6 separate regions of the Homo sapiens genome follow, and all the other regions are linked to region 6. Evidence: promoter capture Hi-C in 16 types of primary human blood cells and fetal thymus (Javierre and others, 2016). All regions are on one chromosome and are shown on one strand. The core of a region is centred on a gene start or on the middle of the fragment in contact, and the rest is flanking DNA. Distances in the headings are between cores, read along the strand shown.

Evidence for each region. The method cuts DNA at HindIII sites, captures the fragments that hold promoters and counts their contacts. A CHiCAGO score of 5 or more calls a contact.
Region 1: a fragment that was not itself captured here is called in contact with the fragment with the promoter of OTUD4 in region 6 in 3 of 17 cell types (M2 macrophages, non-activated CD4 T cells and total CD4 T cells); the score reaches 7.7 in M2 macrophages.
Region 2: a fragment that was not itself captured here is called in contact with the fragment with the promoter of OTUD4 in region 6 in 1 of 17 cell types (M2 macrophages); the score reaches 7.1 in M2 macrophages.
Region 3: a contact is called between a fragment that was not itself captured here and the fragment with the promoter of OTUD4 in region 6, in 3 of 17 cell types (total B cells, total CD4 T cells and non-activated CD4 T cells). The highest score is 7.4, in total B cells.
Region 4: a fragment that was not itself captured here is called in contact with the fragment with the promoter of OTUD4 in region 6 in 1 of 17 cell types (total CD4 T cells); the score reaches 6.5 in total CD4 T cells.
Region 5: the fragment with the promoter of ARHGAP10 here is called in contact with the fragment with the promoter of OTUD4 in region 6 in 3 of 17 cell types (M0 macrophages, M2 macrophages and M1 macrophages); the score reaches 7.0 in M0 macrophages.

The regions. Positions count from the first base shown.
Region 1 is chr4:147,628,141-147,632,562 of GRCh38, reverse strand. TMEM184C (transmembrane protein 184C) reads right to left here. Exons shown (of 10, transcript NM_018241.3): 5 at 4,128-4,202; 6 at 2,871-2,964; 7 at 1,058-1,170. Among named protein-coding and RNA genes, the nearest start is that of TMEM184C, 13 kb to the right of the region's middle. The HindIII fragment of the contact is 1,008 bases long and covers 1,316-2,323 here.
Region 2 is chr4:147,768,871-147,773,260 of GRCh38, reverse strand. All of the region lies in intron 1 of ARHGAP10 (Rho GTPase activating protein 10), which reads right to left. Among named protein-coding and RNA genes, the nearest start is that of MIR4799, 12 kb to the left of the region's middle. The HindIII fragment of the contact is 4,613 bases long and covers 493-4,390 here.
Region 3 is chr4:147,609,873-147,614,336 of GRCh38, reverse strand. It overlaps TMEM184C-DT (TMEM184C divergent transcript), which reads left to right. Exons shown (of 2, transcript NR_186679.1): 2 at 4,376-4,464. Among named protein-coding and RNA genes, the nearest start is that of TMEM184C-DT, 5.1 kb to the left of the region's middle. The HindIII fragment of the contact is 869 bases long and covers 2,501-3,369 here.
Region 4 is chr4:147,677,672-147,681,735 of GRCh38, reverse strand. It overlaps PRMT9 (protein arginine methyltransferase 9), which reads left to right. Exons shown (of 12, transcript NM_138364.4): 2 at 1,265-1,413. Among named protein-coding and RNA genes, the nearest start is that of PRMT9, 4.5 kb to the left of the region's middle. The HindIII fragment of the contact is 2,263 bases long and covers 350-2,612 here.
Region 5 is chr4:147,729,831-147,734,473 of GRCh38, reverse strand. It overlaps ARHGAP10 (Rho GTPase activating protein 10), which reads right to left and starts at 2,386. Exons shown (of 23, transcript NM_024605.4): 1 at 2,019-2,386. The coding sequence starts at 2,172. RefSeq lists enhancers at 342-471, 1,600-1,669, 990-1,882, 1,883-2,775 and silencers at 1,780-1,859, 2,170-2,689. The HindIII fragment of the contact is 2,455 bases long and covers 1,533-3,987 here.
Region 6 is chr4:145,179,152-145,183,248 of GRCh38, reverse strand. It overlaps OTUD4 (OTU deubiquitinase 4), which reads left to right and starts at 2,660. Exons shown (of 21, transcript NM_001366057.1): 1 at 2,660-3,434. The coding sequence starts at 3,276. It overlaps LOC124900794 (a long non-coding RNA gene), which reads right to left and starts at 1,056. Exons shown (of 2, transcript XR_007058294.1): 1 at 1-1,056. RefSeq lists silencers at 2,254-2,653, 2,744-2,973, 3,094-3,553 and enhancers at 1,899-2,728, 2,729-3,558. The HindIII fragment of the contact is 3,984 bases long and covers 939-4,097 here.

The DNA.
Region 1 (4,422 bases), core at 570-3,069, 2.5 Mb before region 6:
AAAAAAATTAGGAACAACCTGAATATCAAAAGGAGATTAGTAAAAAGTTATATCCACATAACAGAATACTAAGCAAAATAAAAATAAAAATAAAAATCACCCCCTCCACAAAACAAAATAATATTTCTGTTTACTGACAAAGAACTGTATCTACAATATACTACTGAACATTGTCGAATTCCAAAAATTTTTATAGTATGAAACTTTCTCTGGAGTTTTATATGTGACACAGGTTTACCAAGATGTTAATCATTCTTTTCTGGGTGGTGGGATTTCAGGGATTTTTCTTTTTCCCTTTTTGTATTGTTTCTAGCTTGTTAAATTTGGTGTATTTGTTTCTAGGACCCCTATTACCCACCTCTTTACTAAATTCTTTTTTTTTTTTTTTTTGAGACAGAGTTTCACTCTGGTGCCCAGGCTGGAGTGCAGTGGCATGATTTTGGCTCACCGCAACCTCTGCCTTCTGGGTTCAGGTAATTCTCCTGCCTTCCCTGCCAAGTAGCTTGGATTACAGGTGCCTGCTACCATGCCTGGCTGATTTTTGTATTTTTAGTAGAGACTAGCCATGTTGGCCAGGCTAGTCTGGAACTCCCAACCTCAGGTGATCCACCTGTCTTGGCCTCCCAAAGTGCTGGGATTACAGGCGTGAGCCACTGTGCCCGGCCCTCTTTACTATATTGAACTATGTATAGTTTTACCTTCTGTTTTAAAAAGATTTACTGATTATTTTCCCATATAATTAAATATTCTACATCATGCTTTCTTCCAAACTCCATAGTATTCTATTATATGACAGGGCCATGATTTATTTTAATAATTATTCTAGTATTGACATATTTAGGTTGTCTCAAACTATTTTCTTCATATAAATGTTACAGCGACCATCTAATTATTTCTTTTGAAAATTGTAGAAGGGCTAAAAAGATGAACTTTTAAAAAGAGAAGTAGAGACATTTTAATCTATCTTCCGCATTAAGACTGTTTAAAAATCCTCCTTAATCAACGGTTTTTACTGCCCTTAAAAAAATGAGAACATTTAAAAAAAAGTAACACTTACCAAAAAGAAACAAAAACCACCAGCTTTACACAAAGAAATTTGCCAACAGGTTGGATTGGGCTCAGTTCTTCTTTTAGTACTTTATAAAAGAGCAGGAGACAATACATGGCAAACTAGAAACAAGATTAACATTTAAACTTGTTCAGTAATAGATATGGTAATAGAAATATTAAAGTTACATACCAGAGACCTGGTACAGAGTAATGTTTCAGGCAAACTTTTCTAGGCTTTATTATTCTATTTTTAGATTAACAAGCTTTCATAGTTTACTATAGATGAATATATACTACATACAACATCTTCCGTAAAAATGTTTTTAAGTGTTCACTTCCTGGGTTCCATAAAGGGAACAATAAACAAATGATTGACATAAATGGAAGAAATGGCTCTTGTTCAGCCAAAATAAAAAAATCCATCTGTAACGGCTTTTAAACATAAATTTCTGACCACTCATTTTATGAGGCTTTAGCTTATTACCTAGTCTATCCTATGTAACTAAAGTAACCCATTAAACAAGTACAATTTCAATAAAATTGTGACTATGAAATCTGAATGTAAAGAATCAAACAATTTTTCCTGAGAGCGGTGTATTAGTTCAGCTAGATTTATTTTTTAAAATGAACAAGACTTACTAACTTTTTAGAAATCTGTAATAACCTAGTGTAGTGCTGAATAACAATAAACATTTTCCTGAAAGTTCACTATTCCCTATTAAAATCATATAAAATGCAAATTCAAAGTATTTTAGAATATGAAACCAGTAAAGAAAGAAAGAATAAAGTGATTCATGGTGTCCAATCATCCTTTTTACACATAAGCCAGTTTTTAAATAACTGTCATGAACTAATTATAAAATTTTATTGCCTAATGTTTTTTCCACTTAAAATACATAACTTCTATATGTTTCATCAGGCTTATTTTTAGTAACTGCCTAATATTTTGGCCAATGGAAAGACCACAGTGCATTCAACTAGTCCCTAACATTGGGTTTTGGATTGCTTTCAGCCTTTTGTTATTTACAAGTAATGGGCTTTATATACAAAGATACTTTAGGCAAACATACTTTTGAACACTTCTTTAGAATACATTCCCAGAAACAGAATTACTGGTTCCAAAGAGGATGAACATGTGGGAAAACTTTAGCTACATGGACATTTAATTTTTATTATAAAGCTCTAATACCAACCATGCATACCACTGCATCTAAATTATTTTGCTGACAGCATTAGTCAAAGAATTTAAATAAAATGCACATTTTTTTAAGCTTGTAAGATCAAATAGGACATTACATCATAGGTCTTTGGAACATACAGTTTCTAGAACATCATCCATTTTTTTAAACTTGGCATTCTCAATTTTCCTTTAACTTCAAATATATGATAACAGAGAATTTTATTCTCACATTTTTATTCAAACCCTGTACCATCAAATACCAATTTGATATTTTCTCTTCTGAATATGTTCAGTATATGTGGGCGTGTGTGTGTATTTTTTTTTTTATGTAGCACTGTGCTTTTATTTATGACATACTCATACAGCTATGCAATGAGCAACAGAAATAAATGAACAAACATGGTCAACATGTGAGGGTATAAGTTGCCAAATAATAAACAAAGATGTTATTATATCTTTATATATGTATTAAGATATATATTAAATTTTTTTCAAGTCTTTCTATAAATTAAATTTCAGATTTAATTTATAGGAAGATTAAAAAGAAGCAAGCCTTATCCTAAGAAGAAACTTTGTCTAAAGAAATTTAGTTATAGATACGAATTTAGTACAGTTTAAGAAAAGTGAACATTTTACTTACCAACTGTGACATGTTGTTTATTATAACCAAATAAGTCCAAGCATTTGAAAAGCTAAAGTTCCCTTCGTCATATATACCAAGCAGCTCACAGATTCTAAAAATAGTAAAAATGAGATATCTCTGATTAAATCAAAATCGTACTTCAAAATACAGCAATAGCAATACTTAAATTTAGAAGTCAGTTTATTTGAGATCTCACTGACAATCACTTGACTTTGGACACAGAGAATTTAGAAGTCAGTTTATTTGAGAGATCCATTGACAATCACTTGACTTTGGATCTAGAGGTGGTTCAAAAATGAAAAACCCATTTTTTTCTAGAAATATTACTATATTCCTTCAACTTGAAGGAAATCCCAAATAAGACACATAACACTTAACTAGAAAGAGTACTAAATTTAAAAAAAAACAACTATGCTGTCTAATTTTGGGAAAGCTTGATTGTTAAACATAATATAATGCAGGTGTATATAACTGTAGTTGTTAATTTTTTCCCCTCAATTGTCTTGGAGGTAAATTTTATGAAGACCCAGATCCCCTCAAGTAAGTATGACCATCAGTATTGTTATAATCTTACCCAATTTCTAAGCTGCAGGGAAATAAAGCATGCCTTCATAATTAAATGGCTAAATAATTGCTAGCTCAAAGGCAGAATAAAGAATTCTTTCACAAGTCTTTCTTTCCACTTTTCCTCTGTGAGCATGCAAAATGTTAGTAACAACTAGGAGATAAAACATGTAATCTATTGGCATTAAAGTATTTGATGTTCTTGAATTTTTAGGGAATAGTTTTGCCAGGTAGCTTAATGATACCCCATTTTACCTCAATTCTAAGCCTTGATAGAATATATTAAAAGAAAATATGACTTCTTTCTTAGAGTACTTCTAATATATTCTAAATTAACTATGTAGAAAATAGAACTGTAATTAACCTAAAGTAGCATACTTTAACTTCATGCAATAGGGTTTCTGTCAAGCTATGTATCTGAAAAAGAAGGTATTTTTTTTTCAAAGTGCTTTACGGCCAGCTAGCTCTGGAGAGGATGTGAATATTTAGGAGACCCCTGTGGTGACTCTTTGCCTATAAATGGTCATGTTATTTATTTTAATAGAGTGAGTTTCTATACAGTGTTTTTTTTTACAACAGACTAGACCTGCATTATAAATAAGCACATTAACACTATGTTTTCTACTTAGTTGTTCCCACATAAGATCACAAGGATGAAAAAAAAAGTTCATATAAAATCCGAGTACTTACAAAGCAACGATGGTGGTGAAAGGTCTGACAACTGTGTACTGTAATACACCTAGTTTGCACCTAAACAGCAATACTCTGCAAAAGAAAAAGAACTTAGAATTTCAACTACTCATTTAAATAGCATCAGATTTTCCCCAAAGCCTCCAAATTAAAATCACTTTGATGAATGATACCATATTTACAGTTAATTCTTTCAATGTAGTCATCCTTAATAGCAGTGGCAGAAGAATGTGGATGGCAGGAAACAAATTATCTAAATACCTTTTTTATTTTTTGAGATATAGGATCTTATTCT
Region 2 (4,390 bases), core at 1,550-4,049, 2.6 Mb before region 6:
GATAATATATACATACATATGTACATTAATGAAAGTAACGTCACATTAACCTACAAGAAGTCAGCATGTTTAGAAGGGAAATCTGCTATTTTTAAATATTTTCAAATAACTCTATCTTGACAATACATTGTAACAGCTTCTTAATATAAAGTGTCCCTTCTACCAACAAAGAAAAAACTAAAGCAAAATGCAGAAGACATTTACCCAAATACTCTGTACATAAAGTGTTCTTTTTACCACTGAACTCTGGAATGCAGGAGTTCCGTCAAAATCTTTCCTACTTAATTCCAAAAGAGTTCCACCTAACTCCTATATGTATTGCTTTTGGAATTCTAATCAGTTCCGCCCACCCAATGACTCAAACTGAAATACTAAGAGATACGACAGCTGCACTCATCCACCCCACCAAGAATAGCTTTCAGGAAACCAAGCTCCAGTTGGAAAACTACATTTAGTAACCCCACTAGACTTAAGAGAATGCTCCAGGAAGCTTCCCATCATTAATAATAAAAATGCCTGTAAAAACTCTGTAATAACATTTGTAGAATACATATTTTCCCCTAGAAGTCAACAAGTTAAACAATTCTGTGGCCGTTTATACCCTAGGATTTTAAACTCATCTGTTTTTGTTTGGAATTCCCTGGGCGACAGATGATTGCTAATGCCTTGTCAAACATTCAAGAGAGACATCCTCAGAGGAATTACAGTTCACTCGCCACAAGGCACAGGCCTGTGGTACAAGTCTGAGCTAGAACATTAAGTCAATAAGCCTATACTCATTTTTCTCATGTTGCTTTCTCACTCGCCTATCCTACCTTGCTCTAAACTTCCCATCTGTCTGTAGAACTGTGGCTTAAAAAAAAGATAAAAAACTGCAGAGAGGAGAGAGGAGAAAGGCAGAGCAGACCTAAAAATCACAAACTGTGTGATGTAAAGTGTCAACTGGCAGATACACACTACCGCCAGGTGGAAACACGGAACCTAGGGAGAGGGAGCTGAAGTCCACTGCTCTTATCTAGAGAAGTCTCAGATAATCCTGCCAACTGGGAAGGGAACAAGGGCCTAGCGCAGTTTAAAGGTGGAGATGGCACGTCCCAGTGCGCAGAGAGCAGAAGTAGAGAGAACTTCTCAGGAGAGATCCCCTTAAATTAGCATTAAATTACTCATTTAGGGCCTGGCGCGGTTGCTCACGCCTGTAATCCCAGCACTTTAGGAGGCCGAGGAGGGCAGATCCCGAGGTCAAGAGATCAAGACCATCCTGCCCAACATGGTGAAACCCAACCTCTACTAAAAATACAAAAATTAGCTGGGCGTGGTGGCGCACGCCTGTTGTCCCAGCTATTCAGGAGGCTGAGGCAGGAAAATCGCTAGAACCTGGGAGGTGGAGGTTGCAGTGAGCCGAGATAGCACCACTGCACTACAGCCTGGTGACAAGGCAAGACTCCATCTCAAGAAAAGAAAAAAATACTAATTTAGTTGCAAGAGTGGAGGCGAGGAAGATGAGAATTATGAAAAGGGGCACCTACATACTTAAAACACAATTTCACTGACATTTATTTACTGTTTATACTTGGATAGAATATAAAGAAAACAAGATTCTACCCCGCTCTAGCAAGGAGAAAGCTAACATTATGCATGCACTAAGCTCACATGCATATACTATTTCATTTAATCCTCACAACAACACAACACTTGAATGGGTACAAAAAAATTGTGCCACCTAGTATTTGCTGGCACAACAGGGTGACTATAGTCAAAAATAATCATACATTTTAAAATAAAAGAGTATATTTGTTTGCAAGAACAACAACAAAAATGCCTCAGGTGATAGATACCCTATTTACCCTGATGTAATTATTACACATTGCATGCCTGTATCAAAATATTACAGATAACCCACAAATATATATACCTACTGTGTACCCACAAAAATTAAAAAGTAAAATAAACCCACTTGAGCACATGTCATTTTCACTGCTGTTACAGGCGGCTGGACATGTCCCTCAAGTACTCATGTTGAATTCCTTACCCCCCAGAATGTGACTGTATTCAGACACGGGATTCTTTTTTTCTGTTTAAACAGAGACAGGGGTCTCGCCTTGTTGCCCAGGCTGGTCTCAAACTCCTGGGCTTAAGTGATCTTCCAACCTGGGCCTCCCAAAGTGCTAGGATTACAGGGAACATAGGGTCTTTAAGGAGGTAATTAAGTTAAAATGAGGTCATTAGGGTGGGCCCTAATCCAGTATTACTGGTCTCCTTAAAAGAAAAGAAGATTAGGACAAAGATACAGGCACAGAGGTAAGACCATGTGACAAGAGCCACCTACAAGCCAAGGAGAGGTGCCTCAGAGGAAACCAATCCTGCCAACACCTTGATCTCAGACTTCTAGCCTCCAGAATTACTAGAAAATAAGACTGCTATTTAAGCTGCCCAGTCTGTGGTACTCGGCTATGGCTGTCCTAGCAGAATCATACAACTGTCATACAGAAAAAAACAAACACCGAAGCTCAGATGGGCTAAGTAACTTGACTGAGGTCATGAAGCCAGTATGTAGCAGAGGTGGAATCTGAATCCAGGTCAAAATACAAACAAGTCTTTCCAAATTACTTAGCTTGGTACAAAGAAGTGCTCAATATATACTGATTACTTTTTTTCATAACACCACATGACTATAAGTTAAATACAGGATACAGAGATATAGCCATAAAACAATGTGATACAGGCTACCATTTCTTTGAGATCAAGTCTCGCTCTATTGCCCAGGCTGGAGTGCAGTAGCACAATCTCAGCTCACTGCAATCTCCGCCTCCCGGGTTCAAGCAATTCTCATGCCTCAGCCTCCCAAGTAGCTGGGATTACAGGCGCCCACCACCATGCCCAGCTAATTTTTCCATTTTTAGTAGAGACAGGGTTTCACCATGTTGGCCAGGCTGGTGTCTAACTCCTGACCTCCAATGATCCTCCCAAAGTGCTGGGATTACAGACAGGCGTGAACCACTGGCACCTGACCACAGGCTATCATTTCTAAGTGCTGTGATAGACAAATACTACTGTATCAGCAAGTCTACAGACTGGAGTTGAGCTCAAAATTGAGGCAGATTCTCCAATTACAACATTCATACTAAGGCCCATGTGTCACCTGGTCTAAGTCAGTGGTGGCAAGGACGGACAGGAATGGCTGGTGTATGAACACACACTCCATCTCTATGTGATCAAAGATGACAGCCCCAGAAAACTTTTTTCTTGCTTTTCATAGGTCCTTATGCTGTTATCTGGAACATGTGCATAAAATACAGAATGATCTTTCAACACTCCACATTAATTATTCTTAGCTCAATGAAGTACTCCTTATTCCACTGCTAGAGAAAAGTGGCAGTCCCTTCAGGCTCCTCTCTTTTCCCTTTTCCTCCCTCAACACATGTCTTAATTCCAGCCACTGGTTTTAAAACCAGGGTACAGGAGAAAACAGGTTCCATGATAGTATCCTATAGTTTCTTATCTGAAAAGTTCAGGAAACGGGTCATTATAACCAAAAGAAAAAAATATCTCAAACAGATGCCCAACTTTCAAAACAATTAAAAGACAATAAATACATGGCATTAAAGTTACAATGAGTAGAATGTCATCTCTGATGATTCAAGAGGGTTTTGTGGAACCTCAGGGTGATCACCGTAAGTATTAATCATCTCTGTAGAAAGAACTTGTTAACATACGGAAATCCCCGGGAAACAATGTCAGTTAACAAGGAATTTATTACATAAAGAGAAGCAATGCAGCACATACCTGAAATAAAATCCTTGATGCACAATTTTTAATGTATATTATACCATTAAAACCAAACAGAACAGAGAAACATGAAAACCTTAGATGCCTGTAGAATGTATACTTATTCTCTAAATAGGGGATCATCTTGAGTTATGGATGGATACCTTCATTTTTCCTTCTTCCTCAACAACATTTACTGAGTAATTTCCCTAATTACCTTCATTGGTGGTAATTAGGATCATGATGGATACCTTCATTTTTCCTTCTTCTTCAACATTTACTGAGTAATTTCACTAATGACCAGAACTGCTATGTATAGTGAGAAAATGTCTCATCATTGAAACAGATTAGTCCTACCTTAAAGCATTATCCAGTTCCTGAGAGCAATAATGAAATCATGCTGCATAATTCATTTCTGCCCTTTTTTATGTTTTTTTAATTTTCATATGCTGAATGAAGGCTGGACGCAGTGGCTCACACCTGTAATCCCAGCACTTTGGGAGGCCGAGGCAGGCAGATCACTTGAAGTCAGGAGTTCAAAACCAGCCTGGCCAACATGGTGAAACCCTGTCTCCACTAAAAATACAAAATTAGCCAGGTATAGTAGTGTGTGCCTGTAATCCCA
Region 3 (4,464 bases), core at 1,686-4,185, 2.4 Mb before region 6:
CATTTACCTTTTGGAACTCCCAGCCTTCCTGTGAGAAGTTCCACTGCCTGAGGCTGGCATTTTGTGAGAAAGCCCAAGACAGACAGAGAGACCCTTTGAAGGTAATACTGATCAACAGTCACAGCTGAGCCCAGGCTTTGAGTCAGCCCAGCCTAGGTGCCAGTCACGTGAGCTGAGAAGCTGATTCCAGCTCCTAGCCATTCTCGCCGCTCAGCCATTTGGGTCATCCCAGCCGAGGCCCTCATCATGGCCAGAGACATACAATGCCTGCTCTGCCTTGTCCTAAGTCCTGACCTGAAGAATTCATGAGGGTAATGATTGTCGTTTTACTTCAGTGAGTTTAGGGTTGTTTGTTACACATCTCTTCCAGTGAATAGATAACTGAAACAGTTGTCTTTTGTCTATACATTTATGTACGATTTATCTAATCTGAAAGAAGTTTCTTGCTTATAGTGACTTTTTTTTTGCCTGCAGCCTACATACAGTCCGTTAGGTTTTTCTTTTTTTAGGGATAGGTTGGCTCCAGAGTCTGAGATTGTGCTAACTAATCCATGAGTTAAGTGAGTTTTAGATTTAAAGGTTGCAAGCATGCAGGGGAGAGATCTGAGTCTTTACAGTATGCTTAATTTTCCAATGTTTCCTTTTTTCTCCTTTCCAACACATGGGAGGGGAAATGGTCTACTGTGTACCAAATGAGTGCAGAAGAAAATAAAAGTAGCACAAGTGGTAAAATTAAACTTTCAAATCTGAACCTTTAAGCTGTTTCTGTCCACTTCTAAGCTTCAACTTTACCTACCACTGTATTTCAGTGGCATTAACTGCATTTACATTTTGCAACTATCACCCCTATCATCCTCAGAACTTTTTTATCACCCAAAGAGAAAATGTGTACTCATGAAACAGCTCCCCATTAGCCCTTGCCTCTGGCCCTGGTAACCATTGTTCTGCTTTCTCTCTTTATGAATTTGACTATTCTTGGTAACTCATATATGGAATAATATAATATTTGCCCTTTTGTGTCTGGCTTATTTCACTTAGCTTGATGTTTTCTAATTTCATCCATGTTGTATCATACATCAGAATTTCATTCCTTTTTAAGGTTGAATGATATTCCTTTATGTGTATATGCCACATTTTGTTTATCCATTCATCTATTGATATGACACTAGGTTTCCACCCTTTGCCTATTGTGAATAATGCTGCTGTGAACATGGGTGTACAAATATCTGCTCAAGTGCCTGCTTTCAGTTGGTTTCTACATTTTTAAAGAGTTGTAAAAGAATATTTTAAAATATTTACTATGGAACTTTTATAGAAAAAGTTTACCAACCCCTGATTTAGAGTAAATTTTAAAATTTTGATAATGGGCTATTATGAAGTTGCTGAGTGAATCTTTCCATAAAGTTCATTCATTTCTTCATGAGGAAGGTGATACTTAAGTCTTAGTAGAGTTTCTCTAAATATTTGAGGAACTCTGTTTGGTCCCAAGACCAACACTGAAAAATTACTGCTTTGTTTTTGTTATTAAGGAAGAACGAAATTCGCTGGTTTGAAAGCAAGATTCAGTGATTTTAAGGGGCTCCTGCAGTGAATTTAGAATGAGAGCGCACAAGAGTTTTTAGAGCTAGCATTGAGCTATGAAAAGGCCCCACTGTGTATAATTAGGTATGCAGAAGCTAGAGGCACTGTCCTTTCCACTTTTCATCTGCTACTCTAATTTTACTCTGAGTAGGCAATGTCCTTTGAATCCTAGCATGTCCCTAAGGCAGAAGTTTCCAAACTTTCTTGTTTCATGGTGCCCTTAGAATCTCACTAGTTTTTTCATGGTGTCCCTTAGCCAAAGAAATTCTAATAGTTTCACTTATTAAGTAATTAGTTCCAAACACCTAATTACAGACATTCGCATACGATCTGACAGATGTTTTTGTGTTTCTTTTAAAAGTATAAAACATCCTAAGGTGCTTCTGTGAGTTCACTCCAGCACGCTGTCGCTCTTCAGCACACGATTTGGGAGTTGCAGTCCCATCTGTGCTTCTGACCTGGACTAGCCTTTGTCCTTGGCCTTGCTTCTTATTTTATTCCAGATACTGTTCCCCACATTTTCAGGCTTGCCCAACAATTGTTTCTCATGGCTTCCTCTGCTTTATAGATTTAAATTTTACATTCTTGATTCACATTTATTCCCCCAGTATATTAACTTTTATATTGGGTTTTCTTTATAAAGGTTCTTTGTTTAAACTACTGAAATAAATATTTAAATGAATAGAACATTTGCCCTCATCTTTAAAGATGTGTTACTAGAATTACTGGATTAATCACTATAGTGCTGTCTAGTTTCCTCACAAGAAAGGTGATAAAGCAGTTTGAGCACCCAATAGGCCTTAGAAGTATATGTGGTGTTTTGTCACTGAGCGAAGAAGATACTTTGAACGGTGCAAACAACTTAACATAGTAAATAATAAATTACCTTTTCTATAAATTATTACTCACTAAGTAAGCTTTCTAGTAGCTCTATCTGGTGGGGAAGTTTCTTTTTTTTTTCTCTTTCTTATCTCCATTGATGTTTTATTTTCAGACCAATTTAAGTGATACTTCTAGAATATCAAGTTTCAGGTTAAAAGGAACTAGAAAAACTTAAATTACTTTAACAGATTTAAAACTAGGTAATTCAGTAGATTTGGGAGCAAAGGTCTTTCTGGTTAGGAAGAAGATTCTGTGTATTATTAAAAATGTGAGAAAGGAAAAATATTTTTATACTGAGACAAATTCTTTTAGGATTTAAATCAAAATTATTATGCACTGTATTTGTCCATTAGATGCTAGCCTGTGGTGATCCCCATAGAAAGAAGGCTTTGACTTACACAAGGTAAAGAGAATTCATGGGGAATTTTGTCCTAGTGTGGAGGAGTTTTCTTCTTTGAACATGAGGAGTGGTCTCTATGAAGTTTGAGTTTTACCTTTACTTTGTTTGTGTATTTAAGGCTGTTGAGCATCCTTGTGTAAACTCATGAACACCTGTTCTAGATGGTTTTCTATGGGTGGGATGTGTGTGTTCGCATGCCTGTGTAACTCCTCCCACACTGTAAAAGGAATGTTCTGTGCATGCAAAGCTCTGAATAGAGTCCATCAGGCTTGGGCCATAAATGGTGCCTCTACTTATGAGGTATCCTTACTATGTAGAGGTAGAACTAGATATTTTTCTCCAATAGTATAAATTCTATGATTTGCATTTTCCAATTTTCTTGTTTGGGAAATGAGAGGGAAACAGAAGAGCAAGGTCTTTGTTTTTTCTCTTCTTGCTTCATCCTCTCCCTGGAACCATGTGTAGGTCAGGATATAAGAATCTGGCAATTGCCCTAGAACCAAGCTTTTAAAATGCTCTCTATTCTCAGAAATACCGCTTTGTGATCAATGTCCCCAGGGAAGAAGATTTAAGGGGAAAAGTATCTTATCTGATGTATAAGATACATCTGTTTTCCATTGTCACCAGAACAAATGAACACAAACTTAGTGGCTTAAGTAATGCATATTTAGTATCTTACAGTGCTGGAGGTCAGAAGTCTAACATGGATTTAAAAGGGCTAAAACCAAGGGGTCAGCAGGCTGCATTCCTTTCTGGAGGTTGTAGGGGAGAACCTATTTCCTTGCTCATTGAAGTCAGTGGCAGAATTCAGTTCCCTGCAGTTGTAGGACTGAGGCCCCGCTTTCTTTCCTGGCTGTCAGCTGAGGGTCATTCATAGCTTCTAGAGAATGTCCACACTCTTTGGTTCATGGTCAGTCCCCTTCCTCCACCTTCAAAGCCAGCAACAGAGAGTGGAGTCCCTTTCATGTAATATCCCTTCTTCTTCATCTTATACTCCTAAGGACCCACGTGATTAGATTGAGCGCACTCAGATGATCCAAGATATTTTCCCCAATTCTTCTTTGTTATTGGTTGATTGACTGTACAAATGGGTCTTGCTATGTTACTCAGGCTGGTCTCAAACTCCTGGGCTCAAGCAATCCTCCTGCCTCAGTCTCCCAAAGTGCTGGGATTACAGATGTAAGCCACTGTGCCTGGTCAATGTCTTAATCTCAAGGTTCTTAACTTTAACCATGTCTACAAAATCCCTTTCTGCTCTGTGAGGTAACATATGCACAGTTTCTGGAATTGGGACATGGACATCTTTTGGGGGAGGATGGTCATTATCCTGCTTACCACACTGGTGATGTTAAAAAAAATAAGTCTTCAATTTTCAATCATTCCACAGGTCTCAGTTTTGTATATTGTGTATTAATATCCAGAGCTCCTTTTCCTATGCTAAATTTAGACTTTTCTACATACACTGATAAGCATTCGAAGACAATTCTTTTTTTTTTTTTTTTTTTGAGACAGGGTCTTGCTGTGTTGACCAAGTTGGAGTGCAGTGGCATGATCTCAGCTCATTGCAACCTCTGCCTCCTGAGTTCAAGCATTCTCCTCTC
Region 4 (4,064 bases), core at 232-2,731, 2.5 Mb before region 6:
GGTTCACTGCAACCTCCACCTCCTGGGTTCAAGCAATTCTCCTGCCTCAGCCTCCTGAGTAGCAGGGATTATAGGTGTTCGCCACCGTGCTTGGCTAATTTTTATATTTTTAGTAGAGATGGGGTTTCACCGTGTTGGCCATGCTGGTCTTCAACTCCTGACCTCAGGTGATCTGCCTGCCTTGGCCTCCCAAAGGGCTGGGATTACAGGCATGAGCCACCGTGCCCGGCCAGAATCTCCTTTCTTATCCTTGTCTCTCTAGTAAACTCCCTCAAGATTCAGTTCCAAATATCAACGCTTTTGTATAAAATATGTGAAGATGATTTAAAATGTTTTAATGACTAAAGCTTTCCCTCTTTCCACAGTATTGCAGCATGGAGAATGGATGGAGGGAGATGCAGTTGGAATTAGAGTGACAGCGTTAAGGCTGTTGCTGTAGTCCAGCAAGTGGTTACAAGGGCCAGATTAGGTTGTAACTGTGGGAATGGAGAGGAGGTAACAGATTTAAAGATATTGAGAGAGCATTGGCTAGGTTTGAAACAGTGTATGTGGAGTTAAGGTACCATTATAAGGTGACTTTGTGGTTTGAGGTTGAGTGGTGTCTTAATCTTATAGCCTGTGTCAGAGGAGTATGATGAGTTCAGTGTAGAACATTTTGAACTTTTCCAAAATTAAATTTCTCTCTATAGGGCCTCTGTGAGGATAAGAACAAGATTTATGTTGCTTCAGTTCTTTGCACAAGGATTGTTCAGGAAATATTTGAGTTGGACTACATTTGCAATGGCTGGAGATCCATTGCCGGGTTGAAATGACTAATAGGAAGCTGTATCTATGAGTCTGAGGTTCAGAAGAGAAGGTCTTGACTAGAGATGTAAATGTAGCATCCATTAACACATGGGTGATAATAAATGCGTTAGGGATGGATGAGTGAAAAAAGAAGAGGGCCAAGGACAAACTCCAAAAACACAGGAGCCGACAAAAGTGAGGCAGTTCTGGAGAATAAGGAGAATGTGATACAGCAGCTAAGAGTGGGGGGAGTTTAGAGAGTGGTCAGACTAATTCTGCTTATTATTGCCATGTAGGTGGTAAAATTCATTCATTTGTGCACTTGTTCAGAAAACAGTGCCTACTAAAGTTAAATGAAGTTTAAGGTGATTGTTCAATAGTGATTAAGTTCGATTGCTTGGAATCTTCAACTAATGATGTATATTCTTTCATCTTTTATGTTATTGACTAATTCATAATTTTTTTCTTATTTGTAAAGGAAACTTTTCAGTACACACTTTTCAGATGGGCTGAAGAGCTTGATGCTCTCAGTCGGATACAAGACTTACTTGGTTGCTATGAGCAGGCCTTGGAACTGTTTCCTGATGATGAAGTGATTTGCAATAGTATGGGGGAGCATCTCTTCAGGTTTGTAGTGATTTTAGTATTACTTGTTAAGAATTATTCTGTATTAGTCTGGATAGGGATAAATCATACTGTAATTTTAACAGGGAAAGTTTAATATGGAGAATTATTAAGGAGAATTGAAAAGAATAGCAGATATATAATAATCATAGCAGTTTTAATATTTTGTAATATACGGCATAATAGCCACTGCCCTTAGGAGTAAGACAGAATATCCAAGGAAGAGTTCCCCTCACTGGGCTGAGTGCCACCCCTTATTGGAGAGGGCACAGCTGTGATTCTTAGGATGGCAGAAAAGTCACTGTAGTGCCTTGCCAGGGAACTTCTTGTAAATTTGTTTTCTGGACCTGGGTATAGTTTTGCCTCTTGGGATGCCAGAGAAAGCCTCATGGGGAAGTATCTTATCAGAGGTACTCCATTACAAAACCATGTAGTAGGGTAAGAAGCCTTGGGGAAGCTGCTGACCCTTGGATGCTGCTAGCTGCCATGCATTTCAGGAGCTTGGTGCTAGACAAGCCCTGTGCAGGAAGCAAAACTCTTTCTTGCTACAGTGTCTCTCCAGCACTGTTTTTTTTGGGGGCAGAGTCTCACTTTGTAGCCCAGGCTGGAGTGAAGTGGCGTGATCTCAGCTCACTGCAACCTCTCCACCTTCTGGGTTCAAGTGATTCTCGTTCCTCAGCCTCCTGAGAAGCTGGCATTACAGGCGCCTGCCACCCCACCCAGGTAATTTTTGTATTTTTAGTAGAGACAGGGTTTCACCATGTTGGCCAGGCTGGTCTCGAACTCCTGACCTCAAGCGATCCACCCGCCTCAGCCTCCCAAACTGCTGGGATTACAGGTGTGAGCCACTGCGCCTGGCCTCCAGCACTTTTTTTTTTTTGAGACAGTGTGTCACTGTGTCGCTCAGGTTGGAGTGCAGTAGCACCATCATGGCTCATGGCAACCTTGACCTCCCAGGCTCTGGTGATCTCACCTCAGCAGCGCCCCCACCTGCACTCCAGTAGCTGGAATTGCAGTACATGCCACCACACCTGGCTAATTTTTTGTCTTGTTTGTAGAGACAGGATTTTGCCATGTTGTTGCCCAAGCTGGTCTGGAACTCCTGGGCTCAAGCGATCCTCTGGCCTTGGCCTCCCAAAGCACTGGGATTACAGACTTGAGCCACTGCACGCGGCCTCTCCGCACTTTTTACCAACAAAGCTTACCCTTGTGCCAACTGGTGGGAGAATATTAAAGGGCCAGATACAGTTTTCACAGAGCAGGCAAAAAAGGGTGAATTTGGCAATAAGTTGATAACTTACATGTTGGGAGTCTTGGAACCACTCCCAGATTTGCTGATTTGCTGGAAGGGCTCACAGGCCTCACCATGTAGTCCTAGTCATGGCTCTTGTGTATTACTGTGAATGGATACAAAGCAAAATTTGCAAAGGGTAAATGTGTATGGGGCAAAGTGTAAAGGAAAACCAGGTGCAAGCCTCCAAAGTTCCTTTTTCAGTGAAGTCACGCAGGATGCACTTCATTCCCACGGTGAGTTATGACAGTACACGTGAAATGTTGCCAACCAGGGAAACTCATTAGAGGCTCAGTGCCCAGGGTTTCTACTGGGAGCTGGACACTTGGGTACCCTCTGCCTGGCATATACTAAAATCCTAGATTCCCAGAAGAAAAGCAGGTCAGCTGTTGAGCATAAACCACATTGTTTGTATAATCAGTTTAGGAATACTATCAGTTAGGATAGTGAGAACCCTCCCCAAATCCAAATTCCCAGATGCCAGCCAAGGGACAGTTTTGTAATCAGGCCTTTCAAAGGATGGCAGTCAGGCCTGCTATGTTAACTCTGCATACTAGTACATGTGCGTGAAGAATTCTGTGAAAGTACAGGAAATAAAATGAATGGTTAACATTGCTTCTGAGTTTGAACGTTTCAGAGTGATGGGGACTCAGCATGGTTCTGCCAAGTTTGAAAGTGACAATTGCTCACATTCGTAGGAATTTAGTTAATCTCATTTTAAATGTTCCTTTTAGGTATTTTCATGCATTTCCTCACTAATTGCTTTCTCTTTCCCTCAAATCACATCCAGCTAAAAAAAACCTTAATGTTATGAATAATGAACTACAAAATTCCTAAGTGACCACAGAATTTCTCTTATTAAACGTATCTCGAGTTCATTAGTTCTTAACAATCAATCTGCTACCTTTGTCTCTGGTGCCCATGGGGCCCTTGCGTGGCTCACTAGACTGTGCAGGGCTAGGGCTCTGGGAATGCAGTGTATGTACTCTGTACAGTTTTAAGACATTAAATTAATAGAGCAATCAACTCAGTATTATGCTTTTTTTTTTCAGTGTGGAGAAATAATGTTTTATAAATAACTTTTAAGAAGAACATGGATCATTAACCTGACAAATGTACTCCCCTGTGATAATTAATGTAAACTCTTTATATGGTCATTCACAATAAGTTGTATGAATATTTATTACAATTTTGGATCGTATGTCTCTCCTCAGAAAAAATTTTGAGATTTGATGTGTAGAATTTTTTGTTAACAGTTGCTTATTTGAAAAAATTCTAGGTCGGGCATGGTGGCTCATGCCTATATTCCCAGCACTTTGGGAGGCCGAAGCAGGCAGATCAGTTGAGGTCAGGAGTTCGAGAC
Region 5 (4,643 bases), core at 1,137-3,636, 2.6 Mb before region 6:
GAACATAACGAGAAAAAAAGACACTTCCCAATTACTCTCAAAGCATGATTACAAGTTATGTTTCTTATGCTAAAGGACGAGAATCAAAATGAGTAAGATACTAATTCACAAATTCAAGAAAGTCTACAGTCTGGAGGAAAGCTGACATCTGGCCCCCCAGATGCACTGGCTGCTGCTGGAACCTAACGCATGTGTCCTGATGGCAGGAAAGCTAATATGCTGTCACAGAAATAGCTTTCTACCAGTGGCCAAACTGGCTTTGCCCTCTGCCTCTCTCCACACCTCTCTAGCTCCAGAGGGAACTACTACAACCAATGAGAGAGAAGGTACATTCTCCCGGCCACTGACTCTGGTTAACATCAAGTTACAGAAAGAGTCCTCAGTCCTCATTCTCTCGTGTTCACTCTGCACCCCCGCTCCCAACTCCTCCTTTCTATGCTCACTCCTCCATATGTATAGGCGCCCCCCTACTTCCCACCCAACACACATACCAGATGCCAAGGGCCTGGAGAGCCCTCAACCAAATAAGCCCACTTGTCACATGTCCCAGAGTCCCATTTCTGATTCAAGCAGCAGAGACTTAAAAACAAAACAAAAAAACCCTAAGTGAGTCCCAGTCCTGATTTTGCAACACCAAAGAGGTCAGAGAACCAAAAGGAACCTTGGAGATCATCCAGAGAAGTTGAGTGACTTGCCTCCAAAATTACAGGGATGGCTCACTAAATTCTTCCCACAGAAATGTACTTCAACTTATTCATTAAATGCATATTTACTGTACCAGGCACCATGCTGGGTGCCCGAGACAGTATAATCAATATGTTTTAATCGCCCTTACTGAAAAATGGGGCGGGGCGCGGTCGGGAGAACAGTGAGATGGGGGATTTTCCCCAGAGGTGGTATCTACAAACAAATGTACAAGGGACGAATACCTAAGGCTGAGAATTACTGAACTGAGAATCTAGGTGAGTGATGAAGGCCCTAAGAACCCAGCCCCTCAAGGCTGGATACTGCCCAAGTCCCTGTCTGCTGTATGGACAGGTCTTTTAAAGGGGGAAAGGGGACATTCACCGCCATCCTCCGAAGGGGTTATGGATCCAAGGGATGGTCAGGCTGCCCAGCTCCTCACTGGGGCTAATTCCGCCCCATTTTCCAGTAGCATCACTAACTCAGTATTTCTGCATGAATTTTGGCCCCTTCTCTCCTAGAAAGACTCTCCTCAACTACACTAAAATACAGTTATCTCTCCTGTATCTCGTGTCTTCTTCCGAGTTTAAGAGACAGAAGTTCAGGGGAGGAAGGCACCAAGCCTAACCGGGGTGGAATTCCCTATTTGCAAGCAGTGCCCGCCTAGGCTAGAGGGCAGGCTGTCCGCTCACCCTTCCAAACCCCAATCTTTGAACCCTCCTCAGCACGGCAGGGGAGGAATGTGCGGAAGCAGCATAAAGCCAGGTGGACTTTCTGGTTTGGCACGTGAAGGACCTGGAACAGGACTGTCGGGGAAGATCAGACAATGAGAGGGAAAAGGTGAAGCTTAAGGGGACTCTGGAAAACTCAACACTCCCGCAGGGTTTCAAAGAATCCCCAAGAAATTTCTTTTGAGAAGTCACAAAACAAAACTAGGCAAACAGATGCCTCGGTTTTGTAAGAGATTGTGAGTAGCTTTAGGCAGCAATGAAACCTGACTCCGGGCCAGGAGTGCCTAGGGTCGGTCCAGCGGAGCGCGCATTCAGCGAGGGGTGTTCGGCCGGGGCCAGGCGGGGCCCAGGCGGGGCCCGCTGGCAGCTGGTTCCCGCCGCCGCAGAGCCGCAGGGGCGGGAATGGGGACTCGCCGCGCTGCCTCGAGGAGGAATGATTCCAGGGACCCCCCGGGGTTCCGAGAGAGCTGGGCTGGTCCGGAATGAATTCCCCGTTCCTCTGGCTGCTGGCCCCGGACACAAGACCCTCCGTCTCCTGCCGAGAGAGGCTCCCCCAGCCGCCTCGCCACGCCGCAGCCCGTCCGCGCCCGCGTCCCCGCTTACTTTTCGTCGCAGCGATGAGGTTCTTCCCGTCCTTAATGAGCTCTTTGATGAACTTGTTGGTCCTCTCGAGTTCCGCTTCGTGAGCGCGGATCCTCTCCCGGAACCACGGGCTGTCGAGGTAGCAGTCGCTGAACTCCAGGGGCTGCAGCCCCATGACGGCAGCGGTCGCTGCGCGGTGCGCACGGCCGCGCGCTCCTGCCCGAGCCGAGCTCCGAGGCCGCTGCCAGGTGCGGCGCCGCGCGTTCAGGGAGCACAGAGGAGCTAGCAGGCCCGGGCGCGCGGCGAGCGCGGCACGGACATGTCCCGTAGAGCCGAGTCCTGCGGCGCGGAGGAGCTGCCACCGAGACCAGCGCTAGCTGCGGCGCCCCAATCCCGGCAGCCCCCGCCGAGCTCTGAGCGCCCGCGGCCCCGCCCCGCCCGGCCCCCGCGCGGCAGACACTCCCCGAGGCGCCACCCGGCCGGGCCCGCGCTCCCGCTCGTCCCCTTCTCTTTCCTCCGCCTTCCTTCTTCCTCCCTTCCCTTCCCTGGACGCCTCTTCCTTCTCTTCCCCACGCGCAGCTGCCCCTCCTCTTCCTTCCGAGGCGTCCTGGGGCTAGAATTTCGCCCCGCGGCTCCCCTCCACCCTGGGCGCTCTCCCCTCCCCTTTGCTTGGGCTCCCGGGGCCGGGGTGACTCACAGTCGGCTCCCCGCTGCACGGAACCCGACCGGGACCGAGAAGGAGCGTCTTAATTGCAGTCGTTAGTCCCCGCAGGCGGGCGACATAACTCTGAAGTGGCTGCCTTGCAGGAGATGATTAACTCATTTATCTCATTTATCCTGGGACGCCCCCAACCCCGAGCTGGGAACGAACTCGCACAGGGGGCTCTTTTCCTTATCCCGGTTCCTTTCCCAGTTTAAAGTGAGATGCGTGGTAAATCTCCGCTTGAGATCGAAGCCTTACAATGGCAAGAGCGTTTTCTTGGTGGCCCAGCAGCTCCTATTACACTTCTCTGCGTATCCGCACTAAATAACTTAGTTGAAGAGAGAGGGCTGGCTAAACCACAGAAAAGTTGTTTCTGTTGTGTTCAGCACATTAAATTTGCTGGGGTAGGTGAAGACGATCTTTATTATTCTAAAAATAACTACCGGAAAACATGCCAGGTAACGTGTGGTTTTCACCGCGTGGGGGTGACGATCAATGAGAATTTATGTCAGTGCCCTCAAAAAGCCTATTTTGTGTGTTATGAAACAACTCCAGTGTGTCCCAAAAAAAGTTAGGCATTTTAAAGTATTAAAATGTATACCTTAGGCCGGACGTGGTGGCTCACGCCTGTAATCCCAACACTTTGGGAGACGGAGGCGGGTAGATCACCTGAGGTCAGGAGTTGGAGACCAGCTGGCTAACATGGTGAAACCCCGTCTCTACTTAAAATACAAAAAGTACCCGGGTGCGGTGGCACGTGCCTGTAGTCCCAGCTGAGGCAGGAGAATCGCTTGAACCCAGGAGGCGGAGGTTGCAGTGAGTCGTGATGGTGCCACTGCACTCCAGCCTGGGCGACAGAGCGAGACAATGTCTCAAAAAAAAAAAAAAGTATTTCTTAAAAAAAAACACTAATAGTTCATTAGAGTAACGTTTCATAATCGCAATTTATTAAGCAATTATTATGTGCCGGGCACCCACTAGGAACTCCATACATCTACAAACTCGCGATATAGACTTACATGATATGATGGTAATATTAACGAGAAACTTCAAAGTAATTCCTCAAGACGTTCAGACTCTCAGCTGGGTAATTAAGAATCTGTTTGGACAGCATGTTGTAGGAGGGTAACCCTCCCGAACAAGTTAAATAAGCCTCCTACTCAATAAGCCCTTTTGTTACAAAACAGCACCAGGAGTGCCTAACCCACAGATAAACATTATTACTCTAATGTCCATCCTCCAGAGAGTTCAAAGTGTTTTACAAATAACTTTTAGGCGGTGAAAGCTTCAGTTCCTACTAAAACCAGCAGGAGACTGGAGTCTACAGAAAAGAGAATAAAAGAGGCAAATAAAGGGGAAGAAAGACAAGAAGAGAGGGGGTGTAAACAAAAATGAGGGCCTAGCGAAACAGCCAAGCACTGACCACACTCAATCCTCAGAGCAGAAACCCAAACCTTTTCTCATAGAGGGGCTGCTGAGACTTCTTCAATATTGAACATGGAGGTTACCGTGTGACCCAGCAAGTCCACGCTTAGATATATACCCAAAAGAAATGAAAATATATGTCCACGCAAATATTTACACACAAATATTCATAGCAGCATTATTCGTAATAGCCAAAAAGTAGAATCAACCAAAATGTCCTTTGTCAGCTGTGTAATGGATGCACAAAATGTTTGTCCATAAAATGAAATATTAATCTACAATAAAAAGGAATGAAGTACTGACACGTGCTACGGCACAATAACGGTGAAAACGTTATACTAAGTAAAAGAACCTAGCTGCAAAAGGCCAATACTATCTACTTATATTAAATGTCCAAAACAGGTAAATCTATAGAGGCAGAAAGATTAGTGGTTGCTAGAGACTGGGGGATAGAGTGGAGGGTATATGTAGTCAGGAGTTTATTTTCAGGGTGATGAAAATTATTAATATTTTTATTT
Region 6 (4,097 bases), core at 1,411-3,910:
GGGGAACCTCTCTGTAAATCTGACACATAGCAGCCAGGTTCCACCAGCATGAGTGACCCATGAGACAGGGAGTATGAGAGGCCAATCAAAATGCCAAAAATGTCTCTTATAACCTAATCTCAGAAGTGACATACCACTACTTTTGCTCTATTCTATTGGTCACTCAGACCAATCCTGTTACAAGGTGGAGGTGATTATATGAGTGTGAATACCAGGAAGTGGGAATCACTTGGTGGGGGTCGGGAGTGGGGCATTTTAGAGGCTGCCTACTACAATACCTAACCTTAGGTATTGTTGGAAAAAACAAAACTCCATAAAATCTATCAATCTATGAAGTTTAAAAACAATTTAAAAAATTCTATCTAGTACAATTATTAGCCCTAAAGTTTGTCAGAGTAAACAAACTTAAGGCATTGACTTTGCACAAGAAGAAAAAAGTTGGTTGACTCCTTTGCATAAGTTTAATTTTATAATTTCATTAGGTCTCAAAAGCATTGAATCTTTCAGGTATTATTTGATTAAAATGATGTCTGTTTAGAGTTCTTCACACAGTCAGAAATGGCTTCCTTAGAATAAACATTCATCAACTCTGGTTTGGTTTCTTGAAAAGGTTCAGAAGTTAATGTCAACAAGCAAAGATCCTTTGAAAGTTAAGTGAGTTTCTCTAAGTTTTGGTGCAGTTTAAAGACATAGGATCCTCTAATATTGCCTTAACGCTGAGCTATATTTGGGAAGTTGGCATACAGAGGGTCTGTCTTGGATTAAGTCTCAAAATACCTAAAGGATTTCCTTAAACAGGCCCAGGGTCAGATATAACAGGTGCATCACTTCTAATTTTGGAACCAGAAGCAGCCAGCTTAGAGTGAGGTTGTTCTACATTCATTCAGCAGGAGTTTAGATATTACTTTGAGTTTCTCTTTGAGTTTAAAAGGCAAGCTTTTAAACTCAAAAACAAGGGCGATCCATGTTTTAAGTAGTGGCAATACTCAGGAATTTTTTTTTTTTTGAGAAGAATGAGAAGTATATGCAATGTAAGTGTATTTTAAAAAGAAAAGCAACAGGTTTGACTTGAAGCTATATTTTTCTTTTCCGTTTTTTTTTTTTTTTTTTTGAGACGGAGTTTCGCTCTTGTTGCCCAGGCTGGAATGCAATGTTGGGATCTCGGCTCACCGCAACCTCTGCCTCCTGGGTTCAAGCTATTCTCCTGCCTCAGCCTCCCGAGTAGCTGGGAGTAGCCTCCCGAGTAGCATGTGCCACCACGCCCGACTAATTTTGTATTTTTAGTAGAGACGGGGTTTCTCCATGTTGGTCAGGCTGGTCTCGAACTCCTGACCTCAGGTGACCGGGCTGCCTCGGCCTCCCAAAGTGCTGGGATTACAGGCGTGAGCCACCACGCCCAGCTGAAACTATACTTTTCTAAACCTGATTTCAAAGTGTTTCTTCGCTACAACAAGTAAATTTGAGGCAGGGACATTTTTTCATTTAGGTAACGATAACGTTTGTATTCTCTAAAAGCAGCATAATTTGAGATACAATATTTAAACATTAAGAAATCAAAGACGCTCCAAGGAAAGTGAATACATGACTGATTGCTTGCACTGAAAATACTGAAAAGTGTCTAACGTAGTTTTTAAAAAATTTTTGTCGTTGGACTCTCACCACCTGGCCTGCCTTGCCCCCCATTCCAAGGTATTTGACTACATGTCTAAACCTATAGTAATGCTCCCTTTTCTTCTCCCTCTCCTCCACCATAGCCTAAAAGACTGAATTAGTTCCTATGATTAACCATGTATTTAAATAAGGACACCAGATGTTGTATCTTAGCAAAATAAAATTTTGGTGCAACAGAAGCATGCTGGATAAATTCTGGGTTCTAAAGCATAATTTAACTTTGTCAATTCCCTGCCATTCAACGTCGGAGGGTGGGAAGTTGAGCTGAAGCCTCGAGCACTGGTGGAAGCCATGGCCAGTCCAGTCAGCATGTTATCAAGCAATTTACAAGATGAATTTTTTAAGGGGGAAAAAAAAACCCTAACGTCTTCCGACAGTGACATGTCTCTGTGATGGGGTGCTCAGCTACAGTGACAGGGTGAACAAAAATGTCTTTGGCAAAGCCTTCATCTTGCCGTAGTACGTGAGCTGTACTACTAATAGCAATCAGCAGTCCACGGTTGATTTATGGACAGAGTGTGTCGTCCCGCACCGTGCCAGTTCCCGGAGCCTCAGCCAATTAGCTCTATTTTCTGCTTAAGCCGTTAAAGCCACCTCCATGGAAACACCAGGAGAGCAGGCCGGGGGGAAGGGAGCAGACAGGTGCGCCCTCTGGAAAGAAATACACAAAGGGCCGACACTGCGCCGCCGTGTCCCTGGCAACTCCACGCCAGCCCGGCGCGCGCGATTCCCGCGGCGCAGCGGCAGGGTTGGCGGGTGGCGCGCGCAGGTCGCCCCACATCGGCCGGCGGAGCCCCTCGGCCTGCTCGCGGACGCGGCGCCAGTGCAGCGCGAAGCCGGCTTGGGGCGGTGGCGGTGGCGGCGGCGCGCCCGCGCTGTAGGGACTTGTAGTCCGCGCGCCTCCCGGGCACCTCCCCCGGGTAGGCCGGCCAGCGCGTCCCCGCCCGCCGCAAGCCGACTTCCTGCGGCTGCCAAGACTACATCTCCCGCCGTCCTCTCCGCTGTCGGGCCGAAAGCGAAAACAAATTCTGGGCTGCGAGGTGCTGTTCTCTCCCGGGCGCCCCCACCCGCTCCCTGCCCCTCCGGCGCCCTCCAGCGAGGTGGGGAAACGAAAGGCCGCGTCTTTCTTTTTGGTTTCCTCGGCTCCCGGCGTGGGGAGTGCGCGGGGGCGCAGGCCCCGCTTCACCTGAGCCGGCCCAGCGTGCGCGCCAGGGGCGGGGGTTTTCTCGCTTCACACCGGTACGGAGGAGGAAACTTGTGGGGGCGGCGACCCCCGGCCTGGGTCCTGAGTCAGGCAGCGAGGCCGTCGGGAAGTGACTACTCACTCTCGGGGTTTTCCTTAATCCCGCTCCCCCCGTTTGTCGTGGGCGCGTGTTCGCTCCGAGGAGGCGGCCGCGTGCGGACAGCCATGCATTAGGCAGGGCTTCCCTATGCGCCCGGAGAGCGCGGACCGCTGCCTCGGGCCGCCGCCGCCTGCCGCCGCTCGCGGAGCCCGAGCCCCAGCCCGAGCCGCCGCCTGCCCCAGGCCGGGGCGTCGAGCAGCCGGCGGCCTGGCCATGTGGGGCTAGCCCTCGCCGCGCCTGGCCTGCAGCAGGACCAGCAACATGGAGGCTGCCGTCGGCGTCCCCGACGGCGGGGACCAGGGCGGCGCGGGGCCCCGCGAGGACGCGACGCCCATGGACGCCTATCTGCGGAAACTGGGCTTGTATCGGAAACTGGTCGCCAAGGACGGGTCGTGCCTGTTCCGGGCCGTGGCGGAGCAGGTAATTGCGGGGGGGCGGGGAGGGCTTCGAGGGGAGGCGGGGACGGCCCGGCGGGTCTGGGTGGGGAGGCAGCTGCGGGCTGTCCGGGCCGCCCACGGCCGGGGCTGCGCGTGCCCTGGCTGTCGTCACAGCGCCCCATTGTAACGCCGGAGTGGGACGCTGCTTTGCGTCTGAAAGGTGCAAATTGAAACTCGAAAGCCCGCAAATTAACGGGGTGTCTCTCTCCTGATGAAGAGGTAATGAGTTGAGGACAACTTGTGAGGCCTGCTCGGAGCTTGTACAGTTGATTTATTGCTGGGGACCTGGCGACATGATATTTTTTACTTTTGTTCCGCATTCACCTTCCTTCCCTTCGTTTGAGAAGCACCACGCTCACCCCACTCCAGTAAACCAAGTGTTTACTAGAAGTGGTGGATCAAACTTTACTTGTGGAACATATTTTGGTTTGCTGCTGGACTTTGGAATGTAGGGTAGGCAAGCTCGCCCATGTCACTTGAATCAAATGGGCAAACTGCCGTTTGAGAAAACCAGCCTTTTACAAATATAGAATATTTTGAAGGATTTGTCTTGAGTAGGTTCCACCCTTTATTATGCTCTGCTGGGCTGTGTAGGTATACTAAACAGAACTGACTTTTTTAAAAAAGCCTGTTTTGATGTTGGTAG